5 separate regions of the Homo sapiens genome follow, and regions 1, 2, 3 and 4 are each linked to region 5. The links are contacts of gene promoters, found by promoter capture Hi-C in human tissues and cell types (Jung and others, 2019). All regions are on one chromosome and are shown on one strand. Each heading gives the region's core, a stretch centred on a gene start or on the middle of the fragment in contact. The rest is flanking DNA. Distances are from core to core; before and after follow the strand shown.

What was found. The method cuts DNA at HindIII sites, captures the fragments that hold promoters and counts their contacts. A contact is called where the count stands out against the background at its distance.
Region 1: a fragment that was not itself captured here is called in contact with the fragment with the promoter of UGDH in region 5 in 2 of the 25 tissues and cell types used here (bladder and stomach).
Region 2: a fragment that was not itself captured here is called in contact with the fragment with the promoter of UGDH in region 5 in 5 of the 25 tissues and cell types used here (H1 embryonic stem cells, IMR-90 fibroblasts, dorsolateral prefrontal cortex and 2 more).
Region 3: a fragment that was not itself captured here is called in contact with the fragment with the promoter of UGDH in region 5 in 1 of the 25 tissues and cell types used here (mesenchymal stem cells).
Region 4: a contact is called between a fragment that was not itself captured here and the fragment with the promoter of UGDH in region 5, in 1 of the 25 tissues and cell types used here (hippocampus).

Annotation. Positions count from the first base shown.
Region 1 is chr4:39,226,808-39,230,229 of GRCh38, reverse strand. WDR19 (WD repeat domain 19) reads right to left here. Exons shown (of 37, transcript NM_025132.4): 16 at 1,873-2,020; 17 at 1,540-1,744. Among named protein-coding and RNA genes, the nearest start is that of WDR19, 46 kb to the right of the region's middle. The HindIII fragment of the contact is 3,095 bases long and covers 41-3,135 here.
Region 2 is chr4:39,826,852-39,830,455 of GRCh38, reverse strand. All of the region lies in intron 32 of PDS5A (PDS5 cohesin associated factor A), which reads left to right. Among named protein-coding and RNA genes, the nearest start is that of UBE2K, 130 kb to the right of the region's middle. The HindIII fragment of the contact is 5,783 bases long and covers 1-3,604 here.
Region 3 is chr4:39,809,673-39,813,018 of GRCh38, reverse strand. No RefSeq gene overlaps it. Among named protein-coding and RNA genes, the nearest start is that of UBE2K, 110 kb to the right of the region's middle. The HindIII fragment of the contact is 6,292 bases long and covers 1-3,346 here.
Region 4 is chr4:39,194,235-39,197,474 of GRCh38, reverse strand. WDR19 (WD repeat domain 19) reads right to left here. Exons shown (of 37, transcript NM_025132.4): 5 at 2,816-2,931. Among named protein-coding and RNA genes, the nearest start is that of WDR19, 13 kb to the right of the region's middle. The HindIII fragment of the contact is 4,911 bases long and covers 1-3,240 here.
Region 5 is chr4:39,526,149-39,529,613 of GRCh38, reverse strand. It overlaps UGDH (UDP-glucose 6-dehydrogenase), which reads left to right and starts at 2,175. Exons shown (of 12, transcript NM_003359.4): 1 at 2,175-2,331. It overlaps UGDH-AS1 (UGDH antisense RNA 1), which reads right to left and starts at 1,775. Exons shown (of 5, transcript NR_047679.1): 1 at 1,276-1,775. RefSeq lists an enhancer at 1,291-1,350 and silencers at 1,731-2,030, 2,281-2,460. The HindIII fragment of the contact is 14,033 bases long and covers 1-3,465 here.

The sequences.
Region 1 (3,422 bases), core at 339-2,838, 300 kb after region 5:
CCAGTGGAACAGAGAGGGACTTGAGTGGAGACAGTTGAGCTGGTGTTAAATCATGAAGTGCCTAGTAGGTCATAGAGGTCCCCCAGGAATGGATTTGTTTGTAAAGGCAATAGAAAGTCACTGAAGGATCCTGAGCAGGGAAATAAGAGGATCAAATCACATCTTCAAAAGTGTGTGGAGAACAGATGAGATCGTTACAAGGCTATTGGCAGACAGAGCAGTTAGGAAGTGGTTAGTTACATTACACATTATTCCAGGTGAGGGCCTGGGTAAAGATGAGGGAACACGGGAGGAGGAAAGGAGCTGGTGTATATGTGTGTTAAGGCATGTGCATGTGTGATTACAGTGAGGGAAAATAGGGGCCTGTGGAAATTGATGAGTTCAGTTTTAGAAAGGGCAAGTTTGAAGAGCTCATGGACTTCCAAGGACACATGACTGGAAGGTAGTTGTAAGTACAGGTTTAAGATAAAGACACAGATTTTAGAGTCAGCTTCATATGGGTGGTATGTTGAGCCATGTTAAGCAGAGGAGATTCACTCAGGAAGAATAATTAGAGTAAGAAGAGAAGGAAACTCATGAGACCCCAATAAACAGCAGCATTTAAGAGAGGCTCGGAAGAATTAGAACGTCAAAGGAATTCACGGTGGCTCTAGGAGATAAGAGAAAAAAACAGTAAAAGGAAATTATAAGCAAAGCAAAATCAAACCTCACTATGATGAAGTCAAGATATTGTTGAAATAATTAGGTTTATTTTATTAGGATTTCCCAATAACTAGGCTCTCTGGAAGCTTAGAAACCGTTTTGTTCTTAAGGGCTTTTCTTGTAATAAAGTACTCATAATAAAAACAGCTGACTATCTTATCTGAGCCTCACAATATCCCTGTGAAATGAACAAGGTAAGTGCTGTTATCTCCATCTATTGAATAGGATTTGACATTTTATCAAAAAGACACCTGCACTCATATGTTTACTGCAGCACTATTCACAATAGCAAAGTCATGGAATCAACTTAAGTGTCCATCAACAGATGACTGGATTTTAAAAAGTGGTGTGTATATATAGATATACACACTATGGAATACTACTCAGCCATTAAAAAAATGAAATCATGTCTTTTGCAGCAATATGGATGGAATTCGAGGTCATTATCCTAAGTGAAATGCCCCAAAGTCAAAAACTGCATGTTCTCACTTAGAAGTGGGAGGTAAACAATGGGTACACATGGACATACAGGTGGAATAATAGATACTGGCAACTCCAAAAGGCGGGATGGTGAGACAGGGTTGAGGGATAAAATACTACCCACTGGGTACAGTGTTCACTATTCTGGTGATGGGTACATTAAAAGCCCAGACTTCACCATATGCACTATATCCATGTAGCACAACTGCACTTGTACTTCTACATTTACAAAAAAAAAAAAAATTCTTGCAAGGATAAAGAATAAAGCAATAAAATAAGATAGAATAATTATAGGATTTGACCTTTAAAATCACAAAAGCAAATGAGAAGTTCCAAAAGAAGTGTGTGAAAGCCTACCTCTTTAGCATTAAATTCTGTGCCAGCATTGGTCTCAGTTCGTCAGGCCCCGTATCTTTTAAGTTGCTGAGAAAGCCATGGGTGCTAAGGTAGATGTTGTTTACTTTTCCACTCTGTGTTTGGCAGGTCAGCTCTCCATTATATAGCAGCAAAGGTTTATGAGCAAAAGGAACTTTGGTGCTACCAGCCAAAATAACCTTGGCTCCTACATTATAAAACAGACATCGCAATGCTGAAAGCTAATACTCAGCACAAACATCAGAAAGAATGTTTTAATTTTACTGCAATGGGAAATTCATCTGTCAGCGAATATACACAAAAGGGGTTTAGTACCTTGTATAGTGTCCTTGTGAAAGACATAAGTGTACACCTTATCATCATCATAAGCAATAAATACACCTTTATCCATTGGCCAGTTTTCCCAAAGAACACCTTTAATGGTTGGTGAAAAATCTGGAATCTCATAGGTAGCGTCATTGACCTACAAAATAAAATTTACAGATTTGCCCCAAGTCTGTACTTGAATCATTATCATTTGCCGTGGTAGAAGCCTGTTTGCAGCCTTAGCTGGCTTAGCTTACTGAGTCATATTCAACCTAACATCACTCCAACAACAACAGGAAAGAAAGTTTCTTTTTCCATTCCTATCCTAGGTCTGGCTTGAAAAAACTATAGTTATTTGGAAAAGCCAAGGTTTGATCTAAAATCTGGCAAATTTGTAGGAGAACCCACAAGTCTAGACACAAAGCTTCAGGTTAAGGAAAAAAAATTAAAGCTGCTCAGGATGACAGAAATTTAAACTACGAACACACTTGTACTTGTGTTTAGAAATTTTTCAATAATACTGAGTATTTGATAATAGTGGGTATTAAGAAACAAATTAACTCACATGATTGAAGTAAATTACACTAGGGATACTTTATTTCAAAAGCTTCTCTAAAATGCATGTCAACAAATATAAATATACAATCATCCCTCAACATCCATGAGGGATTGGTTCCAGGATCTCCCACGGATAGCAAAACCCACAGATGGCCAAATCCCTGAATAAAATGGTGTAATATGTGTATAAACTATGTACACCCTCCCTTATACTTTAAATCATCTCTAGATTACTTATAATACCTAATACAATATAAATGCTATGTAAATAGTTGTCATACTGTATGGGGAATATAGACAACAAAAGTTTTCTGCACAGGTTTAGCACAGACAAAACCATCCATTTTTCCCCTGAATATTTTTGATCTACAGTTGGCTGAATCCATGGATGAGGAACCCACAGATAGGGTGGGCTGACTGTAATATTATACTAAATAAGCTGTTTACAAAAATCAGTCCATATAAGTCCTGTGAACTCAGGCAGGTAGGCTTGTATATATCCTGAATAGGGAACTGAAAAATATCTGCCTCATCCTACTCTCAAAATGAGAATGAAATATAAAATTCTTGCAAATAATAATTCATACTACAAAGCTGTGTTATTTAACATAGTAGTTGCTATTATAACATCTACATGTAGCCAGATGTACCTATTAAGCACTGAAATGTGCCAAGTCCGAATTGAGATATGTTTAAGTGTAAACTACACAGAGAGTTCGCATGAAAAAAAGATTGTAAAATATCTCATTACTTTTTTTATATTCAATTACACATTGAAATGATAATATTGAGATACCATTGCACACCAGTCAGAATCGCGATTATTAAGTCAAGAAACAATAGATGCTGGCAAGGCTGAGGAGAAAGAGGAACGCTTTTACACTGTTAATGGGAATGTAAATTTGTTCGACCATTGTGGAAGACAGTGTGGCGATTCCTCAAGGGTTAAATTAAATATATTAAAATTAATTTCATCTGTTCGTTTTTTATCTTTTAAAAAT
Region 2 (3,604 bases), core at 1,099-3,598, 300 kb before region 5:
GATACTCTGTCTCAAAAAAATGAAAATTAACAAAAATTAGTTCAAATGTTATTTGGTACTATAGCAAGACCCTGTCTCTACAAAAAATTTAAAAAGAAATTAGCCCGGCATGGTGGTATTCACCTGTGGTCCCAGCTACTTGGGATGCTGTGGCAGGAGGATTGCTTGAGCCTCAGTGTTCATAGCTCCAGTGGGCCATGATAGTGCCACTGTACTCCAGCCTGAGTGATAGGTGCCTGGCATCTGTATTAGTAGTGACAGTAGGAAGTGTTTTATGAGCAGATATCTGACCTGCCAACATCCATTATTAAGCAAGTATCACACTATATGAGCATAAAGAAATGAAGACCTGAACGGACCTTGCTCAGGTCACTTGGCTAGTGCTACACAGGGCATGGCTTAAGATCCCAGCATATCACTTATTGTCTGTCTGCCTCATGATACTGCTCATGGCGGTAGCTTGGAAATTTCTTTTTTTTTTTTTTTTTTTTTTTTTTTTTTTTTTGAGTTGGAGTCTCAGTCTGTCGCCCAGGCTGGAGTACAGTGGCTCGATCTCAGCTCTTTGCAAGCTCCACCTCCTGGGCTCACGCCATTCTCCTGCCTCAGCCTTCTGAGTAGCTGGGACCACAGGCACCCACCACCACGCCCGGCTAATTTTTTGTATTTTTAGTGGAGACAGGGTTTCACCGTGTTAGCCAGGATGGTCTTGATCTCCTGACCTTGTGATCCGCCCGCCTCGGCCTCCAAAAGTGCCGGGATTACAGGCGTGAGCCACCGCGCCTGGCCGGAAATTTTTTTTTTTTTTTGTGGAGATGAAGTCTCACTCTGTCACCCAGGCTGGAGTGTAGTGGCGCAGTCTTGGCTCACTGCGACCTCCACCTCCTGGATTAAAGCAATTTTTCTGCTTCAGCCTCCCGAGTAGCTAGAACTACAGGTGTGTGCCACCACACCAGCTAATTTTTGTGTTTTTGTAGAGATGAGGTTTCACCATATTGGTCAGGCTGGTCCTGATCTCCTGACCTCGTGATCCACCCACCTCGGCCTCCCAAAGTGCTGGGATTACAGGTGTGAGCCACCATGCCCGGCCTCAGCTGATGTTTTGACTGCCCTTCAGTTGAATGGTCAAAATCCTGAAAGTGCCAACTATTTTTATTTCATGTGGAACTGCAGCTTCCACCTTGCTACAAGATTCTAAACATAGCTCTCATTAACTGCTAGTATTCCCTGTGAGTGATTTGACATTCCACCTGCATTTTCCTGAGACCTGGTGAGGATCATCCTGTTAAGGTTTTATATCATTACAGTTTCAACCAACTAACTGGTAAGAGAAGACATAGAGGTGCCAAACCTGAGAGCAATCAAACACACCGCTGAGCTACAGGGTGATAGAATCAGCTCTCCTTAGGGGCCTTGCATTGTGGAGTCTGATCGGGATTGCTGCACTAAGTTCAGCCCTGGGTTTTATTTGATAAAGAAGGCCTGGCACCCTTGTGCTTCTCTGTGGCCCTGCATTCTAACTCCAGGTGCCCAATTTATCAGTCTTTTATTTTTCCTTGCATGATTCTCCACACCTTTCACTTGCTTTATTTTTCACTTCCTAGATGATCATTTTCGGCTCTGTTCACAACTCTGCAGTAATATCTCAAAAGAGCTTACCTCTTAACCTCACCCCAGTCATCTATAGGTGCTCTTTTGTCGATCTGAGTACAGAATCCCACCCCAGAGTGGTACTTTACACTTGCACCACCTCCAGAAAGCTTGTGCAGTTGTATTACTTGGTATTTACTATCATATTTTATTATCATTAATTAGTGAAAACCATTTTTGAGGCCCTAGTATATGCCAACTACAGTTTACACTTTAGGTTTGTTAACTTCATTTCATCTTCAGCTCTTTTAGGTAGATTTCTGATGTGTGAGGCTTCTAGAGCCATTTTAATACCACAGCCATAACTTCTAATATGTGGCAAGTGCTAACCCTCGCAGAATTCCTCTTACTAGGTTTTTACTCAAAACATTAGGTCAGTAATGATTATTTTTAGCTTGATTCCTACCTATAGGGTTTATTTACTGGTTCAAGGATACTTTATTCCACCAAAACAGAGAGAGGAAGATATGCAAAATTCTCCTGGCCTCAGTTTTAGCTGGGAGCTGATGCTAAAGGTTTTAACTTGTAAAGGTAACGTTAGAATTTTTAGATCGGATTTTTGTGGTAAATGTATTCCCTCAGCTATTTGCATGTATGTGGGTTTCAGTAAGTATTCCTGTTTATGTTTTGGGCTGCATTTAGACTTGTTATTCCTTTTGCAAAAATTCCTTGAGTTCACCCAATAAAACCAGTAAAAATCAGCCATTTGCAGTGTGGTCAGGAAACAGTCAACAGTATTAGCTGGACATTAGTGTTGGGTCTCTGAGTTTCGGATGAAGGAATGATCATTTCAGTAGTTTAGTTCACTTGTTTTTCCTCTTTGTGTTAAGGCTATCATTCAGAGGGCAAACAGTTCCCGGTGTTGTGAATTGAAAATATGTTCTGAATAGATTTGCTGATTGTTGAGTATGTTTTGCTTACACTTAAGGCCAAATTCTTCCTTGAAGATGAGCTTGTCAATAAACATCAATGGAAAAATAACCCCAAATTTGTGACTTCTGGGGAATTTGAATTTAAAGAGAATATCTGTAGGATAACAGACTGTGGGTTTCTAGTCGTTGGATTAACATGTTTTGTTTAGCATGCTTAGTGTGGGAGTGTTCAAGGATCTTAGAATTTGTTTTTCTTAAAGCAAAGAATTGACTGAGTTTTTGTGCTCATTTGTATAATGAGAAGGTTTCCTCCCATCATGTGGGTTCGTATCTCAAAATTAACCCCTAAGTATATATCCTCAAATGTGTATCCTCATGTGTTAAACAGCTATATATTAGTTCAATATGAATTTTTTTTAGTAACAAGTGAATTTTTCTCAAAATAACATGAAATTTTTCAGAAGCCAAGTGCTTGCAGTGATGGCAGTTCATCTTGGTACATAGAATCAAGTCCAGGAGCTCTTCCAGTGACCTGGGTCTTTCAGAAGTCTGTGAGAGCAGCCCAAGAAATACAGAGGACTCAGGGCTAGGAAAGGGAAGCTTCCTGAAGGTGTAGCAGGCAGCTTGTAAATAATTCTTTGGCCGGGTCCAGTGGTTCATGCCTGTAATCTCAGCACTTTGGAGGCCAAAGCAGGCTGATCACTAGGTCAGGAGTTCAAGACCAGCCTGGCCAACATAGTGAAACCCCATCTCTACTAAAAATACAAAAATTAGCTGCGCGTGGGGGCGCAACCTATAGTCCCAGCTACTCAAGAGGCCGAGGCAGGAGAATCGCTTGAACCTGGGAGGTGGAGGTTGTGGTGAGCCGAGATCATGCCAAGCACTCCAGCCTGGGCAACAGAGCAAGACTCTGCCTCAAAAAAAAAAAAATTCTTTAATAGCATATTGTTAAAATTGCTTCAAATAGTATAACAAATTAATAGTCTCTGTATGAATTGTAATAATCACTTAGCTCTTTTAGCATTGTTACCTTTATAAAATATGTATGTAGTAAAGGAGTTTGGGAATATATCTTTCTTTCTCTT
Region 3 (3,346 bases), core at 377-2,876, 280 kb before region 5:
CCACACAATCACAACCACACACCCACACAATCACAACCACTCACACCCACACCCACACACAATCACAACCACACTCACACCCACACCCACACAATCACAACCACTCACACCCACACCCACACAATCACAACCACACACCCACACACAATCACAACCACACCCACACACAATCACAACCACACTCACACCCACACCCACACACAATCACCACTCACACCCACACCCACACAATCACAACCACACTCACACCCATACCCACAGACACCCACACCACAATCACAACCACGCACCCACACTCACAGACACCCGCACCCATATGGGGTCTCACTCTGTTGCTCAGGCTAAGTGCAGTGGCACAATCACGGCTCACTGCAGCCTCCGAGTAGCTGGGACAACAGGGTGAGCAGCACCACGTCTGGTTAATTTTTTATTTTTTGTAGAGCCAGAGTCTCACTATGTTGCCCAGGCCTGTCTCAAACTCTTGGATGCAAGCCATCCTACCACTTCGGCCTCCCAAATAGCTCAAAGCAATCACAATACATTAGACAGCATTTTATTACTGTCTTTATATATTTCCGTGATTATAGAATTCATTCATTTTCTGTATCCCACCTTTCCCACCAAAAGACAGAACTTTCCATCTCTCCAACATCTTCCATTTCTCTCTCCCTACAGACTTGTATCCTTCTGTCACAAAATGTGCCTGGCACAAGTGTCTCACACCTGACTCTATTTTGTAATTATTGTAGTTCCCTTTAAACAGTCAGATTGTTCCCCAAAATTTTAGCTCATCACCCTCTAACTTCTACACTAGCTGTTAATCCCATCAGTCGATCAAACCTCCTCAGGGATTGGAAGAGAACAACTAACAAAATGCTCAGGCCAGGCACGGTGGCTCATGCCTGCAATCCTCAAGTGAGTGGATCACCTGAGGTCATGAGTTCGAGACCAGCCTGGCCAACATAGCGAAACACCATCTCTACTAAAAATACAAAAGAATTAGTCGGGCATGGTGGTGTGTGCCTGTAATCCCAGCTACTCAGGAGGTTGAGGCAAGAGAATCACTTGAACCCGGGAGGTGGAGGTTGCAGTGAGCGGAGATTGTGCCACTGCACTCCAGCCTGGGCAACAGTGCGAGACTCCGTCTCAAAAAAAAAAAAATGCTCAAACCGTTGGCCACATACAATGTCTAGCTCTAATATGCTCCACCTTTCTGATGCACTTAATGTCACTGATGGCACCCTCCTTAGTCCCATTTCCTCTGCTCCTCTTGATTTTTATGACAAATTTAATAAAGTTGATATTAATTAAGTGCTTGTTACATGCCCTGACGTAAAAATATTGTGCATAAGGAGTTTACAATCAACAGACAGCTAACAAAAATATAGAAGGTGAGGCTGGGCATGGCGGCTCACGCCTGTAATCCTGGCACTTTGGGAGCCCGAGGCAGGAGGATTGCTTGAGGCCAGGAGTTTGAGACCAGCCTGGGCAACACAGTGAGACCCCTATCTTTTTTTTTTTTTTTTTTTTTTTTGAGACAGAGTCTCATCTTTCACTGAGGCTGGAGTGCAGTGACGTAATCTCGGCTCACTGCAACCTCCACCTCCCGGGTTCAAGTGATTCTCCTGCCTCAGCCTCCCAAGTAGCTGGGACTACAGTCACGTGCCACAACGCCCGGCTAATTTTTATTTTTATTTTTATTTTTAGTAGATACGGGGTTTCACCGTGTTAGCCAGGATGATCTCGATCTCCTGACTTTGTGATCCACCCGCCTTGGCCTCCCAAAGTGCTAGGATTACAGGCGTGAGCCACCACACCTGGCCGAGACCCCTATCTTTACAAAAAAAAAAAAAAAAATTAGCCAGCACCCACCTGTCATCCTTGCTACTCGGGTGGCTGAGGTGGGAGGATCAATTGAGACTAGGAAGTTGAGACTGCAGTGAGCCATGAGTGTGCCACTGCGTTCTAGCTTGGGCAACAGAGTGAAACCCTGTCTCAAACAAACAAACAACAACAAAAAAGAATATAAAAGGTGGAATATGTATCACTACTGGAACAATTGAGTCCTGTGGGAGATTTGGGAAGTTTCATGGAAGCGGTCGAATTTGGAGGTGGCCTTAAAGGATAAGATTTCGATTTATAGAAATGGAAAGCCTGGGTAGCATGGTGAAACCCAGTCTCCACAAAAAAACTACAAAAATTAGCTGAGTGTGGTGGCTTGTGCCTGTATCCCAGCTTCTTGGGAAGCTGAGGTGGTAGGATCGCTCGAGCCCGGGAGGTCAAGGCTGCAGTGAGCTGAGATGATGCCATTGCACTCCAGCCCGGGCAACAGAGCAAGACTCTACCTCGAAAATAAAAAAGAAGAAATGGAAGAGAATCGCATTACAAAAGGAGAAACAGTAATTTTAAATGCGCAGTGACAGGAAGCACAATGTGTACTTGGAGAAATGTAATTAAAATACAGAGAAAACGAAAGATCTTTGACTATCAACTTTTATTTTTAAAAAAGAATACACAGTGGCTAAAGAAACAAAAGGCTTACAATGAAAGTAAGTCTTCTGCCCTAGTGTTTTCTAGTCCCAAAGCTTACTCTTGACAAGATTTCTTAACTGTTTCTTCAGATAGTTGCCATATTTTAAAATAACATGCTTTGAATTTTTTTTTTTTTTTAGGTACACCTACTGAAATGGGAACTATTTCTTAATGTATACATTTTGGGTATTAGTCTGTTTTCGTTTTTGTTTGTTTGTTTGTTTGTTTTTGAGACAGAGTCTCACTCTATTACCCAGGCTGGAGTGCAGGGCTCCACCACCTGGGTTCAAGCGATTCTCTTGCCTCAGCCTCCCGAGTAGCTGGGATTTCAGGCAGCCGCCACCACGCCCAGCTAATTTTTGTATTTTTAGTAGAGACGAGGTTTCACCGTGTTGACCAGGCTGGTCTCAAACTTATGACCTCAGCTGATCCACCTGCCTTGGCCTCCCAAAGTTCTGGGATTATAGGCATGAGCCACCGCACCCGAACTACTCCTTTCTCATACTGCTATAAAGAACTGCTGGAGACCGGGTAATTTATAAAGGAAAGAGGTTCACAGTTCAGGATGGCTGGGGAGGCCTCAGGAAACTTAGAATCATGGCGGAAGGGGAAGCAAACATGTCCTTCTTCACATGGAGGCAGCAAGGTGAAGTGTACAATGAAGTGTGGGAGGGAAGCCCCTTATAAAACCATTAGATCTGGGCCAGGCAAGGTGGCTCACGCCTGTAATCCCACCACTTTGGGAGGCCAAGGTGGGTGGATTGCTTGAGGTCAGGAATTGGAGAACAGCCTGGACTACATGGTAAATCTCCAT
Region 4 (3,240 bases), core at 14-2,513, 330 kb after region 5:
TACTTAACCTTTTCTTTTCTTTTTCTTTCTTTTTTTTTTTTTTTTTTTTGAGATAGAGTCTTGCTCTGTTTCCCAGGCTGGAGTGCAGTGGTGTAATCTCAGCTCACTGCAGCTTCTGCCTCCTGGGTTCAAGCAATTCTCCTGCCTCAGCCTCCCAAGTAGCTGGGATTACAGGAGCCCACTACCACACCTGGTTAATTTTTTTGTATTTTTTGTAGAGACGGGGTTTCACCATGTTGGCTGGTTTCGAACTCCTGACCTCAAGTGACCCGCCTGCCTCGGCCTTCCAAAATGCTGGAATTACAGGGATGAGCCACCATGCCCAGCCAACCTTTCTATTCCTTACTCACTTCATCCATAAATTGGGAATAATAGTAGGACCTCTCATAGGGTTGAGGATCAATTGAATTAAAGCACTGACCAAAGTGCAAGGTACATATGAAATGCTATCACAGTGTCAGCTATTTTAGCTGTTACTGAGAGCAGAGACCACATTCATTTTATTCTTCGTACCCTCAAAGAATCTAATACAGTACCTATGCAGAAAGCAGGTATTAAATGAATGCTTTAAGTGAGTAGACCCCAAGGCAGGAGTTTGCCTAGTGTGTTAGAGGCTCAGCAAGGACAATGTGGTTGGAGCAGACAAATGAGGAGGGAAGAACATGAGATGAGGTCAGAGAGGTTGCGAAGGCCAGATTATGGAAAATTTGTTCTGGCCATTTTAAGGCCTTTTGCTTTTATCCTGGGTGAGACAGAAACCATTGAAGAGTTCTGAGCAGAGGGCTCATTCTGGCCTCTGGGTTGAGAAGATTCTAGAGTGGGGCAAGAGTTGAAATGGAGAGGCCAGTAAAGAGGAGACTGCAGAAATTAAGGTAGAAAATGTCTGAGACCACACCATGGTGGCAGCAGTAGAGATGGTGAGACCGGCTGGATTCTGGAGATATTTGGAGGTTGAGTCTGTAAGATTTTCTGACAAATTAGTTATGGAGAGTATGAGAAAGAAAAGAGTCAAGGATGGCCCTAAACATTGGCCTAACAATTTGGAAGAATGGAATGCCAACAATGGTGGAAGGCAAAGCTGTGAGTCAAGAAGGTTTTGGAGATACTAAATTTGAAGTGTATACTAGACACCTCACTGAAGATGTTGAGTAAGCGTTGGAGGTATGAGTCTACAGTGTGGAAAAGATATAAATTTGGGAGTTTTCAGGATATAGACAGTATTTCATATCAGGAGACCAGAACACAAAAGTGAAGGAAATATTCAGAGAAGAGACTGGGGCTACAGAGATTTTGCTGATCATAGATTAAGGGACTTGGGTGTTAAATGGAACTGGGTGTCCAAAGAAACAGGCATTAGGAAGGGGAAAAGACTATACAATGACAAGTAGGAAGATGCCAAAGACATCTTTCTATACCCAAGAAAGGGAGAAGAAAATCTCTTCTTCCTCCTCCTCCTTATATACCTCAAAGCCCTTTTGCTTCCAGTGCTCAGAAATCAAGTTAGTCTTAACACCAATAATAACAGTTAATAGACAAACTAATTTAAAGTTGATATTTGTAACTTAAAAAAATTTAGTTTAACTTTTCAAATAGTTCAATGACATTAATGTTTAGCTATAGCACCCAAAATTAATGTTAACATTAAAGAGATACATATATGTAAAACTAATTTGAAATGATCGTCTTGAATGGAAGGGCACTTTCTCAAGTATCTGTGGGTGCCATGATCTCCAGAGTGTAATTCCTTTATTAGCAGTAAGTTATACTTTTCCTGGCCACCTGGATGCAATTAAGCCCACTAGGTTCTACCATTCATCACAATGATGTTACAATAATTGACAAGAATAGATGTTTCTTCTTGGCTATTCAGAGGGCAGATGCCAAGTGACCAGAGGTTGGGGGAATCAAAGAGCCAAAACAAGAAGGTCAAACAAGGAGGGACATAAAAACACCCTCTGGCTGCATATCCTGAGGCAAATGGAACTCATAGTCCACATCTAGATTTAACTAGGATTTGGAGAAGGTGAGGGGTCAGAATTAGAAATCTTGCTTCTATCCAAGCAGTAAATGTTTTTTTTTGTTTGTTTGTTTTTTTGTTTTTTTTTTTTGAGATGAAGTCTCACTCTGTCACCCAGGCTGCAGTGCAGTGGCGCGATCTCTGCTCACTGCAACATCCACCCTCCGAGTTCAAGTGATTCTCCTGCCTCAGCCTCCCGAGTAGCTGGGATTACAGGCGGCTGCCACTGTGCCCGGCTAATTTTTTGTATTTTTAGTAGAGATGGGGTTTCACTATCTTGGCCAGGCTGGTCTTGAACTCCTGACCTCGTGATCCACCCATCTTGGCCTCCCAAAGTGCTGGGATTACAGGCGTGAGCCACCACGGACTCAAGCAGTAAATGTTTTAATCTACCATGTGGACTAAAATTACCACATATTATAATGCAACTAAATTAACTAAAATTAATAACAAAAATAGCACATATTATCAAAATGTGTTCATATGTGTATGAGCTATTCCTCGTCCAGAGGTACAGTCTGGGTGGGAAAGGACAAATGGAAGCCATGCTGTTAATGTCCTGATGCGAAAGGCACAGCCTGACTTTAACTCAATCTATTCTATGTACCCTGGCAAGTTCTTAGTAAGCAGTGAACAGGGATCTTCATGTTTAGCTAAATGTAAGACTTGCGGAGGGACATGGGGAGGGGGTTTGTACTGCAAAATTTCCATTGCAAGATCAGGGAAACCTGAGGCGGCAGAATTTACATTGAGGTAGAGCATCTCAAATATTTAGCAGTGTTTCCAGCTATCACCTACCAAGGACAGGAATCTTTCGAGATGTCTGATGATTATAAATAAGCAAATTTCCTTTAACAGTTCCAACAGCCAGGAAACTTCCAACTTTTGACCAAAGAAGGAAAGACATTTGATCCCTGTAACATTAAGATATAAATTACTAAACAATTCACGATCATAACCTCTAAACAGTCCTTTAAAAAAGTACTCCTTGGATAATTTTAACATCTACTTAGAAGCCAAAGTACAAAATACAACTTAATGCTTTAGGACAAAGACTAAATGCTAAAGATATTTTGGAGATGCTACAGAATGATCTTAGGGTCAGTTAGACTCAAAATACAAAAGTATAATGAATGTAGACTTCAGTTATGATGGAACCTCAAAATTCATGAGATGACCTATGATGAGATATTTATTAATTTGTCTATTAATGATAGTTTTAG
Region 5 (3,465 bases), core at 926-3,425:
AAGAATGTGAGGTGAATACTAAATAGAAAAATGTTGAATTCAAAATGAAGGGACTAAGATAAGTGGTTTTTATTACAAAGCAAACTGTATTAGATAACTTAAATCTATGTATGTTCAAAAAGATGTACTTGTCATATCTAGTGCAATTACTTGTTTACATATCTCTTCTACCCAACCTGTGAGCTTTGCAAGAAGGAAATGAGTCTTTTTTGTTTGGTTATTTTTCTGAGACAGTGTCTCGTTCTGTTCCCCAGGCTGCAGGGCAGTGGTGTGATCTCGGCTCACTGCAACAGGGAGCCTCCTGAGCAGCTGGGATTACAGGTGCCCACCGCCTCACCCGGCTAACTTTTTGTATTTTTAGTGGAGCCGGGGTTTCACCATGTTGGCCAGGCTGGTCTGGAACTCCTGACCTCAGGTGATCCGCCCGCTATGGCCTCCCAAAGTGCTGGGATTACAGGCGTAAACCACCGTGCCTGGCCAAAGGAATTGAGTCTTAATCCCTTTTGCATCTTCAGTCTTTAGGATAACGTCTGACACACAACAGGCATTAAATATTTGTTGGATGAATGAACTGAACTGCATAGAATGCAGAAAGCCTACATATACTGGCCAGGCACAGTGGCTCACACCTGTAATCCCAGCACTTTGGGAGGCCGAGACGGGCGGATCACCTGAGGTCAGGAGTTTGAGACCAGCCTGGTCAACATAGCAAAACCCGGTCTCTATTAAAAATATAAAAATTAGCCGGGCATGGTTGTGGGCGCCTGTAATCCCAGCTACTCGGGAGGCTGAGGCAGGAGAATCGTTTGAATCTGGAAGGAGGAGGTTGAGGTGAGCCGAGATCGCACCACTGCACTCCAGCCTCGGCGACAAGAGGGAGACTCCGTCTCAAAACAACCAACCAACAAGCCTACATATCCTGCCACACGTGCTACAATCCACAGCAAACTGTTTCATCCACATTCAACCACTTTCTTAAAGTCACCATCATGATCCTATCAAGAAAACCGTAATTTATATGGTATTTTAATGTGCCTTTATAAATTACTAATCACTTTCTTCATGATGTATGTTAAAATGGCTTATGTCACCTGATGTAATCCTTAATGAGGGAAATAAAAGGCCATGATTATGCCTGGCTTTTTTTCTTATATGTTAGATTTGAGTGTTAAAATGACCTCGAAGCGGCGAAAGAAAGGAACGGAACTGCCCTCCACATTAAAAATGAGCAGGCTCCATAGGTTAATTTTACTCTTCCTCACGCACGGCACTTACATGTTGCAAACTCTCTGCTCCACAGCACGCACAGACATCCCAAATCCCGGATTGGGCCTGAGGAACATCTCTGCAAAGAGCGCCAGGAGGGCGTGGGGGTCCCGCCTCTCTCGCCAGGGACCAGGGAGTGGACACTCACTGGTCCAGTCATGAGGAACTCAGCATCCTCCTGACGGGAGGCGCCTCTTTCCCAGAAGCGGTGGGTCAGGAGGAATCTGACTAAACCCTGGGTTGCCGGCCCGGAGGGCGCGGTTGACCCCGGGGCCTCGAGGTTGTGGGCGAGGAGTAATCCGCCCGCCGAGACCGACCCGCAGATCCAGGAGACCGAAACCCGAGGGCGGCGCTCCAGGGTGCTGAGGAGACCGGAAAGGCGGCCAGGACCTTCCGGTCGCCTCGGCCCACCACCCACCCAGTGTCCGCGCAGCCCTAAAGCCTGGCAGACGCGGAGCGCACGCGGCCTTTGCCTCGGCCAGGACAGGGCAGCGGGGAGAGGGCTGCTAGACAACAATTCTTGACCCCTCCTCGACCCACGACCGCCAGGTAGGCGCGCAAAGCTCCTACACCTGCGGCGCGCCCCCGTCCCCTGGTCCAGCGGACACGCCACGCACGCAGCCCCGCCCAGCGCCGCTCGCGGTAGGGGCGGAGCCGCTGAGCTGGCCAAAGCGGATTTGCCCAGCTAGGCCAGGGGCGGGGCAGGCCCTCCCAGCCAGGACCAGCCCCAGTCTCCCCGCCCCTGAGCCGTGAAGGAAATAGGGACCTGGCCCTGGGCCTTGTGTAGCGGGAGGGGGAGCTAGGAAGCAGCTGAGGGCAGAATCCAGGAGGGCCTGGCTGCGGGGGAATGAAGCCTCCGCCTTCGCAGGCAAAAGCCTTTAAATACGGGCTCAGGCCCGGGACTCAGAGTGTAACGCGTGGCAGCCTGAGGGAGGGGCGTGCGCCGAGAGGGAGCTCAGATCGAGCGGGGCGCGGGTGGAGAAGCTGCGGCGGCGCGGCCCGTAGGAAGGTGCTGTCCGAACGATCGGGATAGGAGCGGTCCCTGCGCTTGCTGCTGGGAAGTGGGTAAGCGCCGCTCCCAGGCTGGCCCCGCCGCCCGGGCGGGATGCTCCCAGGTCTGGGCGGGATGTGGAGGGAGCGGGGCTGGGGTGTGCGCGCTGCTCCCGGTCGCTCGCTGCGCTGGGTCCCGGGCTTCCCGTCTCACGACCTTCGTCTCTTTGGGGCTTAGGGCGGGAACCGCATTTTGGAACTGCTGTCCTGGGGATGTGGTCGTCTGGGCTTCTTATTCAAGACTCGTGAGTCTTCCAGCCCCTTCTCTTTCTGCCTTTACCCACTTTCCTGACTTGGATGAGATTTCCCTGCCGCCTCCAAAGCCGAACGCCCACCACAGGAAGCGGTTCTCTCGTTGGGGACCTCATTTTGGCCGCAGAGTCGTAGTCTTTTGTTTGTGTTTAAGAGTCTGCTCACCTGAGGGGCTCCTGCTTTTCTCATGCCGCCCCTCTTAAGAAACCAAAGAGAAACGAAGCCAGAAAGCCCTCTTGAGAGCAAAATACTAAGACTGCCGTGATATCTGTCCGGGATGTCCTGGAATCCATTGTTGGCCCCCTACACCACAGAATTGCTCTGTTTGATGTCGGGGAAGGCCTTTCCTGGGTGCCTCGGGAGACCATGTTTGTGTGAGATCTTGAAAAATTATACGTCCTATAAATATATAGGAAGATAACTTAGTAGGGTTAGGAATTCTAGTATAGAGAAAAGAGGGGTTCGCTGGTAGGGATCTATTCATGGGCATACAGAGCAGTAGCTGTCTATCGACAGACCTCAAAGACACAGTGAGCCTTTGAGTTTCTTCAAATCCCTTAAGAAATGGAGAACAGTAGTCTTTCTTCAGGGGGGTTCTGGAAATGAAAGAGCTGACTGTCTGCTCTGAGATGTGCTTATTAGTGGCCAGGATCCAGTTTAAGGTAAGGGGTAGACAACCCTGATTGAAAAGATCTCATTTCTTCTCCCGTTGCTGTACTCCTTTTTCTAACAAAATCTATAACTGGATAAGCATAATCCATCTTCCTTCTTGTTTACTTCCACAGCTTTACATGATAACCCTTAGACATAAAATTAATACCGGCTTTCTTACTGATTAAATATTTTTCTCTGGTCAGGCATCTTTTACTGTTTAATTTCTGGAAATGATTAAAATGT